Regions from separate parts of the Homo sapiens genome. Here region 1 is linked to region 2. Evidence: promoter capture Hi-C in 16 types of primary human blood cells and fetal thymus (Javierre and others, 2016). All regions are on one chromosome and are shown on one strand. Each heading gives the region's core, a stretch centred on a gene start or on the middle of the fragment in contact. The rest is flanking DNA. Distances are from core to core; before and after follow the strand shown. Region 1 has its middle 400 kb from the start of CSMD3. Region 2 holds the start of CSMD3 (CUB and Sushi multiple domains 3).

What was found. Contacts are between HindIII fragments. The CHiCAGO score rates a contact against its expected background, and 5 or more counts as called.
Region 1: a contact is called between a fragment that was not itself captured here and the fragment with the promoter of CSMD3 in region 2, in 1 of 17 cell types (total B cells). The highest score is 5.2, in total B cells.

Annotation. Positions count from the first base shown.
Region 1 is chr8:113,834,536-113,840,407 of GRCh38, reverse strand. No RefSeq gene overlaps it. Among named protein-coding and RNA genes, the nearest start is that of CSMD3, 400 kb to the right of the region's middle. The HindIII fragment of the contact is 1,690 bases long and covers 956-2,645 here.
Region 2 is chr8:113,434,977-113,441,221 of GRCh38, reverse strand. It overlaps CSMD3 (CUB and Sushi multiple domains 3), which reads left to right and starts at 4,283. Exons shown (of 71, transcript NM_198123.2): 1 at 4,283-4,545. The coding sequence starts at 4,368. RefSeq lists enhancers at 2,849-3,349, 3,362-3,411, 5,189-5,699. The HindIII fragment of the contact is 6,354 bases long and covers 1-5,973 here.

The DNA of each region.
Region 1 (5,872 bases), core at 551-3,050, 400 kb before region 2:
TGTGGAAAGGCTCAATAACTGTAGTTAGCACCTTAACCTCAGAATGCCAAAATTATTTTTATTTTGTTGTTAAGGTATATCTCCCTCTTTTTGTGCCCAAATCTCCTATTTTACTAAAGGAAGCTCAGACTACATATAACATGGTTTACATCATGAAAACAGCACTCATAGGGAACCATGTGGTTTTAGACTGATAAATAATTTCATCAGCTAGCATATTTTGAACTGTTATACAAAGATTTTTAATGACTTATTCATAAAAATGTAATTCTTTTGTAGGCAAATATATTAAACAACAATCAGCAACAAAAATGGTGATCATAAATTATCCTAAAGTTTCCCATAGAAGGGAATTTATCTTTGCTGGTTTCTTATACAGCTGAAAAACCGAGAGGCACAAATTCACTTAGCCTGCAATAAAAGTGCAAAGTAGTAGGATTTTGGAGACCGATGCTTAAGCAAAGACTACAGATAATTTGACTTTTTTTTCACTTCTGTAGTATAATTTGAACTGAGGAAATAGAAGACTCTCATTTCTAAGAAGCCTTACTTGCTCAAATTCCTGAAATTTCATCCAATGGGATTTAAGTTCATTAATTTGGATTTAAGAATTGTGTCCTTCCAGTCTCCTAAGTTTTAATACATTTTTGGAGTGTGATTATTAGATCACATTTTAGGGATATGAGGGAGGAAATGCCAGGTGGGGGGCCAGATGAAGGGCTCAACCCAAACCACCCTCCCTGTTGAGGATGGGGTATCACAGACACGTCTGCCAGAGAGCCAAGAGAGTATTTGTACACTGAGTGTCAGAGGAACATGGTCTCTACTATTTGAATACTATCAACACATGTGGTCAAGTGCCCAAAAAATTATATATGCCTAACAATTCTACTCAATGGTGGCTTGGTAAGACCCATTTCCACAATTAACAAGGGTGGTGAATATAGTAAAAGCTTAAAGGAAAATGCTGCATAGTGTTTTAAAGCACATAACTCTTTCTAATAAATATTATCACATTTGAGGCAGTATAATAGCCTATATGATGAGTGGAAATCTGTGTGATACAGACCTATATTAAAATTCTAGCATCAACATTATTATGCATGTAATACTTGCTAAATTAATTTCTGTAATATGCAGTTTTCTATTGTTAAAAATTAAGAATAATGATAACAACAGTAAATATGACAAATAAAAACAATCCTGGACTTAAGTAAAGATAAATTTTATTTTAAAAGGCTGTGGTAATAGAGAGAAAGCTCTGACAACAAGATCTGCAATCACCTCAATATTCAACAGAAAATTTTGGCTGGGAGCGGTGGCTCACACCTGTAATCCCAGAACTTTGGGAGGCTAAGGCAGGCAGATCACAAGGTCAAGAGATCAACACTATCCTGGCCAACACGGTGAAACCCCATCTCTACTAAAAATACAAAAGTTAGCCAGGTGTGGTAGCACATGCCTGTAATCCCATCTATTAGAGAGGCTGAGGCAGGAGAATCACTTGAACCCTGGAGGCAGAGGTTGCAGTGAGCTGAGATCACAGCACTGTACTCCAGCCTGGGTGACAGAGCAAGACTCCATCTCAAAAAAATAAATAAATAAATAAAAATAAATACTTAAATAAGTGGCTGTGGTAATAGAGAGAAAGCTCTGACCACAAGATCTGCAATCATTTCAATATTAAACAGAAAAAGGTCCCTTTTTATAAGGACATGTAAGAAGGACTAGCAGAAGTTTTGGGGACAGGAACAGTGTAATGAATGGAAAGAATGATTGAGGTGTTCTAATAGGAAATGTTTCCCTCTGGTCAGAAGTTTTTGAAAAGGGCATTTAATGGTGAGGGTAGGCTGTATTCTGCACATTTGTGCTTATTTAAACTTACGGGCAAGTGAAAAAAGTTCAAGGTTCTGTGGGAAAGAGAGAAGCCTGTTTAGTCAAGGCAAGTTATTAAGTAGTAGATAAATTGTAAGCATTTTGTTAGGTAGCTGAGAAGTCTAAATGAGACATTTTGCTCACAACATTGGTTGGCTATTGTTACATAATTATTTTGGAAATGTAGAGAGTATCAAGGTATCATTAGCACCATTACAAAGTAAACATTAAAAAATAGGATTAAGAGGTTATTGTTTTTATTATTTATGTTTGTTCTGGTATTGATATAGAGAGAATTAAAGTTTCTGTCTCTCTCTTTTTTTTTTTCCTGAGACGGAGTCTCGCTCTGTCGCCCAGGCTGGAGTGCAGTGACACGATCTCGGCTCACTGCAAGCCCCGCCTCCCGGGTTCACGCCATTATCCTGCCTCAGTCTCCCGAGTAGCTGGAACTACAGGCGTCCGCCACTATGCCCGGCTAATTTTTGTATTTTTAGTAGAGACAGGGTTTCACTATGTTGGCCAGGCTAGTGTTGAACGCCTGACCACGTGATCCACCCACCTCGGCCTCCCAAAGTCCTGGGATTACAGGTGTGAGCCACCATGCCCCGGCCAAGTTTCTGTTTATTCTTATGGCGCAAAAACGGTCATTCAATTAAGCTGACTATAGTGCAAGCAAAAGGAAATGTTATCAAAAGTATTTTAAATACTTGTTATAACTGTAGCACAGACTGCTTAAGAATCAATTCTATGGGTATTTTTAAAGCTAAGCTTTTATGTCTGCTTGTAAACATGTGATTGCTTTTTAGAATAACATATGAGACATGATATTAAGTGTGTCCTCAAAGCGTCAAGTTTTTTTTCTCAACTTCTATGTATAAAATATATTCATGTTTAAAATGACACTACACAACAACGTATATATTTGGAGGAAAGACTGACATTTCCTTTTCTGTATAAATGTTAGCTTTCTACACTTACAGTTTTGCATTGCAGGGTACCTTAAAGAGAAAGCAATTATTGTCTCCAAAGTAGATCATCTTCTGACAATGGTGTTTGTGAAATGCTAGCCTTCTAAATGAAACATTACAGATACCAGAGGATATCAATTAATTTTTAAATTTCAAGAATAACACTGAAAGGTGGTATTTTTTTTACTACTATACTTCCTCTGTACATTTGGCACATGTATTACTTTAGAACTGCATTTTGCAGCCTGACAATTTTTATAATTAGAAAATACTTGATTTTTTAGGCAAAATTGAGTTCTAAAATAATACAAAAGTATAACATGGCAAATATTCAAAAAATGAATGTTCTTCAAATAAGTGTTATTATTTCTATATTAACAACACTGTTCCAAATATATTTGGTATAACTTTACAAGACTGCCACTGAAAATTAGCTTCTGAACTCTACTGGCACAAAAACTTGTCCCTACTGTGTGAACACGCAGTTCTGAAAAGCTGTACCTGCAGAGTTGATGAGATTATATAATGTTGGAAGTCTTGAGGTGTTGAAGTATAGGAGCTTATTTAACTTTCTACTTGGAAAGTTTTATGGATTTCTAATTTTATCAGATACAAAGCCAATTTTTAGAGCTCAGATCTATTCTGAAAATTACTATTTTCTCCAAAACCATCTGAGGGGAAAAAAATACTATCCTTTCATACAATCACCAGGATAACACCAAAAAGAGGAAGAACTCAAAAAGACACATCAAACAAGATCTTACTGATAGCAAAATAAGTCACTAAAATCGGTAATTTGTGGAAAACAATGTACTTTGAGTTGGGGAAAGGCAAATATTCCCTGAAGAGTTTTTGATGAAGTCTCTATTATTTAAAATCCAATTTTTAATTAATTACCAGATTAATACTGAAAATGTCTCCTTTTAGTAGTAAAGTAGTTTGTCTTTTTAAAAACATAAACAATTTTCTGATAAATTTAGTCAAGTAAAAAGAGTAAAATCACAAATAGAGTAAAAATGGGAAACTAAATGTATCATTATTTTATGAAAAATAAAATTATACTCAATCACAAGATTGATTATTGGTATACCTAGAAATTTATATTAAAAGTATAAATACACCATTTAATATCAAGATATACCTATAATATAAATCTTTTAATTTCTTGATATTAAATGGTATGCTACTAAATAATACTAAAACATTTAAACAACTTAATATCCAACACAGCATATTAGTTAAGTAGGGTATTTCTGGCATAGCTCAAACTTTTAAATATAATCTTTTCAAATACTTTAAATTTGGAAAAATAATAATGGGTGAAAAATACAGTATACAAAACTGGATAATTTTAAAACTACATATTATAATTTTATGTATAGGAAGCATAAGAAAAACACGTACTTTCATATATTAACAGCAGATGTTACAGCTATTAATATTCTTTCTTCCACATTGCTTTCTGTATGTTTTAAGCAATTTTAAATTAGTATACTTTTCTATCAAATTTGTTTATTAGACCCAGAAAGATAAAAAAGATAACCCAGTGCTTAATTAATATCTTGGTCCTTAGGATCAGATATCGCTAGGAATTCCGGGAATGCTGTTAAAGTAGACATCACTAATGATCACTGATACCTTGTATTTTTTCGAGCATACAAAAGACTATGCTTTCTAGTGCTCTAAGACTACTTACTAATTCTGGCAAATGGGGTGTGTGTGAATATAACATATGCCAGTTACGGGGCAAAACAAATAAGCTATCCACGCTCTCTCTTTCCCATCAGGGGTTAATTGTAAAGCTGTGTGGGTGGTGAATCTTCTGTCAGCCTGGGTCTCTGAACTACTATGTGGAAAGAATTTCCTAGAAATATCCATTGAACTTATTGCATAAATGAGAAGCCAATCCTCTGTTATACTATGGTAATGGTATTTTGGAAGCTCTTTATTACCTCCGTATCCATATAAGCTTAAGCTATACACGCCAGTATAGAAATTGGTAATGGTAAATGTGTTTCCTTTGCTTATAAAATCTAAAATAAGCAGTACTGCTAAAGCATCATGACTACATAACTTATTTTCACCAAACCTAAATTTTCTCATACATAAAATAATGCAATTAAAATTATCCCTTATCTCATAGTACTGTGAAATTCCCATTAAGTATTTCACATAAAGTGCTTAGTACAGTGTCAAAAATTGTATGCATTCCATTAATTGTCATATTTATTAGTATACAATGGTTGCAATAACGAGATATTTCGGGATGGCTAGAGTTTAGTTATCTGGGAAATTGGATAAAAGAGTTTGAATTAAGTGAGTGAATAAAATTAGGGCCATAGTATATAAGACAAATACCAAAAAGTGACTGTGTGTGCCTACATATAGAACCCAGGGAAACAGATATACTACCTGGAATCCTGATCATCATGGGTTTTATTACTTGAATTTGCATTTCATGTGGGGTGAAGAGAGGCCAAGCTGAGATCATGGCCTAATAAGGCAGGGACATGGATTGTCTCCAAATTGGTCAAAATTGGATAAAATTAGGATGAAGCTTAAGTGGTAGGAGCCAAGGGGATCAATTAAGCCAAAGTCTTTCCAGGGAGCCATGAGTTCAAGCCAAATTGACAAAACATAAGCATAATTTGGAAAAGACAAAAGTACCAACACAAATGAAAGAATCGAAATTAAGGAGAAAGCAAGTACCTAGAATTAAGTGAAAACCTGTCAAAAACAAATTAATGAGGACCCACAAGGACTTATATAAACAGCACTCTAGCATATTTAACTCTCCTTTATACCTGAATGCCTGTGTAGGCAATGCCATCTCACTATGCAATCCCAGCAAGAGGGCACTCATGTCATATTTTTACATAAAGTCCCCATCACTCTACTACTGAAATTCTACAGTGTTGAACTCTAGTGGATGTATGTGAAGGCATGGTGAATATTTGAAAATATCCTAAATATGTAGATATAGATTGAAAATAGCATATGATTTTATTCAACAAGCCTATTTAAATATA
Region 2 (6,245 bases), core at 3,034-5,533:
TGAAAAATGAGAAAAATGAATTCCTCTTTTCCCCCTACTCTCCTGGCAGTGAATTATATGTAAAAACTGCAAATGAGCAGGAAAATGTCTGCTTGGTTATTTGTAATCATTAACATTTTATCTTACTCTAACTAGTTTTTTCCCACAGACCCACAGATTTGATTTTCAGCCTTTTAATTAAATACATGTGAGAATGTGTGTGTGTGTGTGTGTGTGTGTGTCTGTGTGTCTGTGTGTGTGTCTACAGTCAATGAACATTTAGTTTTAATAGGCAGGAACATTTCTATAAAAAAATTACTTCACTTGAGCAAGAATCCCCATGTAAACCTTTATATCCATTATATAAATTAAAAAAAAACACTAAGTTTATAGCTGTCAAAAGTATATGCTTCTTTCCAAAGTTAAAGGTAACGCACTTCCCACATTTTTGTGTTGTGTTTTCTCAGTGTACTCATTTTGTTTTGATTATTTTGTTCATTTATCTTTGATATTGCTCCTGTGGTGACAAAACATAGTAAATACATGTTGAAGGGGCTAGTCTAATACTGGGCAATTTTTGGAGAGGGGCTTATTTTATCTTTTTTAGTGCAATTCAGCCCTGTTTTAAGATCAAAGTTAATTGTATTCCATAGGTATTTGGGGAAGGAACTGGAAAGGAATGGAAATCTAGTACTTCTAGTTTAAAGAGCTTGTGCATTTCTGATTTAACCTCTTTTTAAAAGCTCTTAAGGGTACTTAATCATTGTGTCTTGATGATCCTTGCCAAGTCACGTTTTACCACGACCTATATGTAGGAAGATCAATAGGCTGCAAGAAGTAAATAAAAATTTTTAAAAAGAGGAGGAATTTTCGTAACTGATAAGTATAAAAAGGACAAAAGTTTTTTATTTATATGTGTACATATATATTCTAAAATTTTATCACTTATAAACTATAAATTATTGCTTTTCTATAATTATGTATCATGTGTACTGTAAAAATGATTCATTCTTTTTGTTACTAGACTATTTCAAAACAAGCATCTGTAGGAGCTAGCATAAAATATAGGACATTAGGGAAGCATATTAACTCTGAAATCAGGTGCCATAGGTTCATACTTCTTACATGTGTTACTTCAGGCAAGGCAAGACAGTTAACTTCTATGTGTATCAATTTTTTTTTCATCTGTAAAACTAGGATAGTTGTTATGCTTGTCTCAGAAAGCTGTAGAGCTTGTCTCAGAAAGTAGTGAGGATTGAATAATATATCTTATGTAAACATAGCACAATGCCTAATGTACAATAAGCACCTGAAGTTTGCTATTATGTTAGCTATTTTTCCATAATCTCTTTCTAATAGTCTCACACAAATGAATGTATAGCTGTGTTGCTTTCCTACAGATTAGCAACAAGAGATAATTTCTTTCTCCCAAATGTAGACACTATGTTCCCTCCCCCGCCCCCACCCCTTCTGGAGAAACTAAAGGATTCTCACCCAGGATTGTGGCTGAAAATTTTGTGTTTCTGGAATACCTTTGGAAATCTTTCCTTAAAGAGGATACTGTTCATCAAGAAAGACTAGTGAGATCTAGCCCTAAACACATTGGACTAAACACCAAAGTTCCTGATAGTGACTTTGGATAAACCTCTTTAGCTCCTCATGCCTTAACTTTTTCCGTCTGTGAAATATTATTTTCCATCCTGTCTCAGAAGCTGGAAGACACAGGTGAAAATGGTTTGTGATTTATTGTGAGCTGTAGAAACTAGATATTATAGTATTGTTCAATATATTATGAGATTCCAGATAAATCTTTTAACAATCTCACATGAAATGATAGGCAGGATTCATTTAGGGAAAGATAATTGGATTACAGGATTAGCCATGTGTTTGAAAATAAATATCAGAAATTGGTATCTTACTAGTAATCTTTATGGTCTTTTAATCAAAATTTACTTACTTTGTGCACAATAATTACTGTTAAAATACCCTGTCTTTTGAGAAAGGGTTTTTTGCGGGGGGGTTTGTTTGTTTGCTTTTTTGGCATGAAGTCCTCCTGTCTGGATGTATAGCCATGTGTTATGTGTTCAAATAGATTGCATAAAACCCAATATTTTTGTTTCTTTTAATAAGAAGTAAATTCAGTTGAGGTGACTAACCTCTGCACACTTGGTAAGGAGGATTTTTGCTGAGCATCCTCATTAAGTCCAAGGGCCTGTTTACATCTCTAACTGGTTGTCCAGCCCAGCAAAGGCAACAGCAGCAACACCACACGCTGACATCTTGACTGAAATCAATGCCAGAGCAGCTGCCAAGGTGGCTTAGCAGGCTAATGTCGTTTTCCATGTTGATCCTCCCAGTCTCTGTCTAGTCCCTACCTTGTTGCCCACTCCCCTTCGAAACCTGCATATGCAGACAATGAAAGAGAGCACTGAAAAGAAGGGACAATGTTCTGCCTGAGGGCTCTTAAAGTATCTCTCTGAATTTAATGAGGTCAGCTGGGCGTCTACAGCTTTTACCTTTTGCTACAGCTCCCTACCCAGGACAGAAATCCCTCTCTAACACACAAACACACACAGGCGTGCACACGCATATGTACTGCAAAAATACACTTGGGAAAACACCTACGCATGGCAAATCACTCTTTGTATCTTTCATAAACACGCACACTTACCTCTCACTACAGCGCGTTTATGCTCTCGCGCGCGCAGACACACACACACACACACACACACACACACGAACTGGGAGAATCACAGGCCCACACACAATGCCACGTACCCCGAGAGATCAGAAGCCTTCCTACGCCTGCAGATTGAACTCACTCGCCACTCAAACCTATGGACACTCGCAGTGTGCCCACTTCCCAGAGCGGAACTCCTTCCAGATTCTAACGCCTTCCTCTGCTGAGCGGGCAGCTCCAACGCGAGCCAAGGGACAAAGCTGGCCAGGGTAATGCTGTGGTGCACGGGACCAAACCCATTATTTGTGCACAGTGCAGGGAGCTGCAAACTCAAGTTGGGCAGTCCTCTAGACTAAGCCTTGTTGATAGACGCTCACGCCCATGATAGCCTGAGGCAGTTAAATGGAGCCACACGCAACAGCAATATCCTGTTTCAGAACTAGCGCTGTGGCACTCCCCACTGCTGAGAGGGGACCAGATTCCCGAAAAGGTCAGATCACCAATCAGTTGCCTAATCTAAGGAACTTGTTCATTGAAAGATTTGGGCCAGGACCGTGGTCGAAAAAAATCAAGGAGCACGACATACTGGTCCCGGGGACACAGCTCCCCTGACACCAAGGGATGGCAAAAACAGGGTCCCTTATACATGCGAAGGAAGAACGGGCGGCTCGGAGACGGCCAGTAGATGGCGCAAGAACTCTTCCCTTGTGCAATCTTAACCCTTGCGTGGTGCATGGGGGAAGCAGATCCAGATGTATAGATACATACATTTTTCGTTTTGAAAGAAACCTCCTATTTACATATTTGGTACCGATTCAGAATTAAGACAAATGGGTTTGTTCTAGATAACTACCACAGATAAAGTAGTTTAACTGCGGCACACACAAACTGAAAAGGGGGTTGGGAGGATGAAAGGGAGAACTATTTGAGGAAACGACATTGACTTCCCTCCCCACCCCACCCCCGCCCAGGCCACGGATGAAATCCGTTTCCCGAATCATAAAAACCCGGTGAAGGGTTTACACGTAGTTATTTGAGTATGTAAATACATGTGTTCAAATACATTCTTTTCCGTGTGAAGGCAGAATTTATTGAGAAAATTCTCTGTGATTTCCTTTTTCAATTAAATCACAGGATAATAAATGGGAGAAGCCTGCCTGAAATATACTGCAACTACAGTAGTAACACATGTCCCATTATAACGACGTGGGCATCGATGGAGCCCGATTCATTATCGTCACGGTTTCCCCAAAAGCAACACAGATCCTCCGATTAAAATATTCCTTTGACATGCTTCTGTATTCGCAGCCTGCAACGGAGAGCTCACTAACATTATTTCTTGGGCTGCTTTTACAGGCAGAATTGATCTATTCGGGGAAAAAAAGCAAGCCCCTTAATTTCAAATATTGTGTGGAGTTTATCAGAGAGCAGAGGTGGGCTTTAAGAGGCTCACTAGTGGTTTCTGGTGGTTGCTATAACGAGCCAGAATTGGGGTAGATTTTGGTGGAGGGGAAAAAACGCACAAGAAAAGACAGAATCCAGAGTAGCGGAGACTTTGTGCCCCCGTTGGAGAGATGGTTGAGTCCTCGTCAAGGTTGCTGTGGTATCCCAGAAACACCATTCACTCCGAGCTGTGACCGCGCACCAACAACAGCAACAACTCCACTGCGCCGGGCTGAGGAGCAGGAATTAGGAGCTCGCGAATAATATGAAAGGGATCCGCAAAGGGGAAAGCCGAGCAAAGGAATCCAAACCCTGGGAGCCTGGCAAGCGAAGATGCGCTAAATGTGGCCGCCTAGACTTCATCCTGATGAAGAAAATGGGGATTAAAAGTGGATTTACGTTTTGGAACCTCGTCTTTTTATTGACGGTGTCTTGTGTGAAAGGTAGGTCTGCTTTGGGGGTCCCCTCCGCTTTGGATGGAGGTGGGCTGACTTGTAGATGGAGAGAGGCTGGCAGCTTACTTTGCAATTTGCACCGATAAAATAATCTGATAATACTAAAGGAGTTGATTCACAGCTCGTTCTCCCCCCCTCAGATAGGAAATGCATTTTGCTTGCCAGATTTGGCGTTCAATGCGGTGATTGAGCTTGTGCTCAATAAATATTCTTGCAGTATGCTCAAACGAATACGTGAGTTGGTTAGTATAGCCTCTAACTAGTGGATATCCAGGCAGAATTCCTCTGCAAGACTTTTCTTAGTGGTGAGGATTACCTTGATTTCTTGTCAGATCACTAGGGCTTGAGGCTTTGGGTGGAATATATATATTAAAGACGCTGGTCTAAATGCTTTTTAACCCTTTCAGGGAAGAAAGTTATCGACGTGCTAGGAATGTGTTGATTTTAAATGCATTAGGGCACAGGGATCTTCCAAGCACTGCCACATCAACATGAATGTCTGCATGCATATGTATGTAAATTGGGCTTCTATGCAATGTTAAATGTAGGGGAGCTTCCCTAGGACCTGTGGTAGAGGTTTGGCAAAAAATGAGGCTTTCGAAGGGTCTGAAATGCCATGAAGTGTAAAGAACCACCTTAAGGGATGAATGAGGTAGGAGGAAAGTCATTAGCTGACGACCAAAAGAAAATCCCCAGCAAGTCTCAGCGTTCAGACAGGTAGAGTGAGTGTCACATGCACAGATAGGGGAGGGGGTAGGTGGGATGTAAAAATGTATTCCCAAGCAGGAAGGCAAGGGACAGTCAGGATCATGGGAAAAAGAGCTGTCCTTAGGGAGAAAATAGATCCATAGCTCTCTTCCACAACTTCTCCGGCACCCTGCTGCCCATTAATTGCTGCAAAGAATACTCAGGAGGTGTTTATGACTCATGCCATCATTTTTTGAACAATCACCTCTCCATACTCATGGCAGCTCGAATAGACGCTATGGATGCCGCTTTCAGTGAAGCTAGTTTCAAATCCCGGGTGTCTGTGTGTCGCGGGGGGGCGGGGGATCGCGGGAAAGGGGGTGCTGTTTTGGCCCAGGCGCGCCAGGGCTGTCAACACAAACTGGACGCTTCTTCCTTTGTAAAGGAGTGCCTCTCTGAACTGCAATCGGGCCGCGTCTCTATGAAACAGTTTATTGTCCAGCTTGCAGCTGGCTGTCCCCCCACGGAAGGCAGCTCATTTGCATTCAGTGGAAATGATAATTCATGTTTTGGGAGGAGGGAGCTGGAGAGGTTACCTTTCCCTCTACTATAACCAATGATGGGTGGCATGTCTAGAATTTTAATTTACATCCCAAAATGCCAGGAAGTCAGTCGCCCCGGTCTCTGTGGCAGCAACTGCCTTGTAATCCCAACCTGCTCCTTGAAGCTTGATTTTTCTTTTCTCTCTGGGGCCTCAGAGCAGCTCTGAGCCGAAAAGCTTGTCCTAAGTGGCACAACTACACTGCCAAATGTACAAAGCACGGCTCAGGTTGCTTACAAGGTTTCTTTGTCGCTGGCTCGACGGGTGAGGAGCCACACATTTATGCTTAGTTCGCCTGCCACTGGGAGTTGGTGGTTAATGGATGGCCCTGGGGCTGCCTGCTAGACGCGCGCTTCGCGTGGGGGAGGCGCGAATAGCCAGCAGCAGCCCTGGCAGAAAA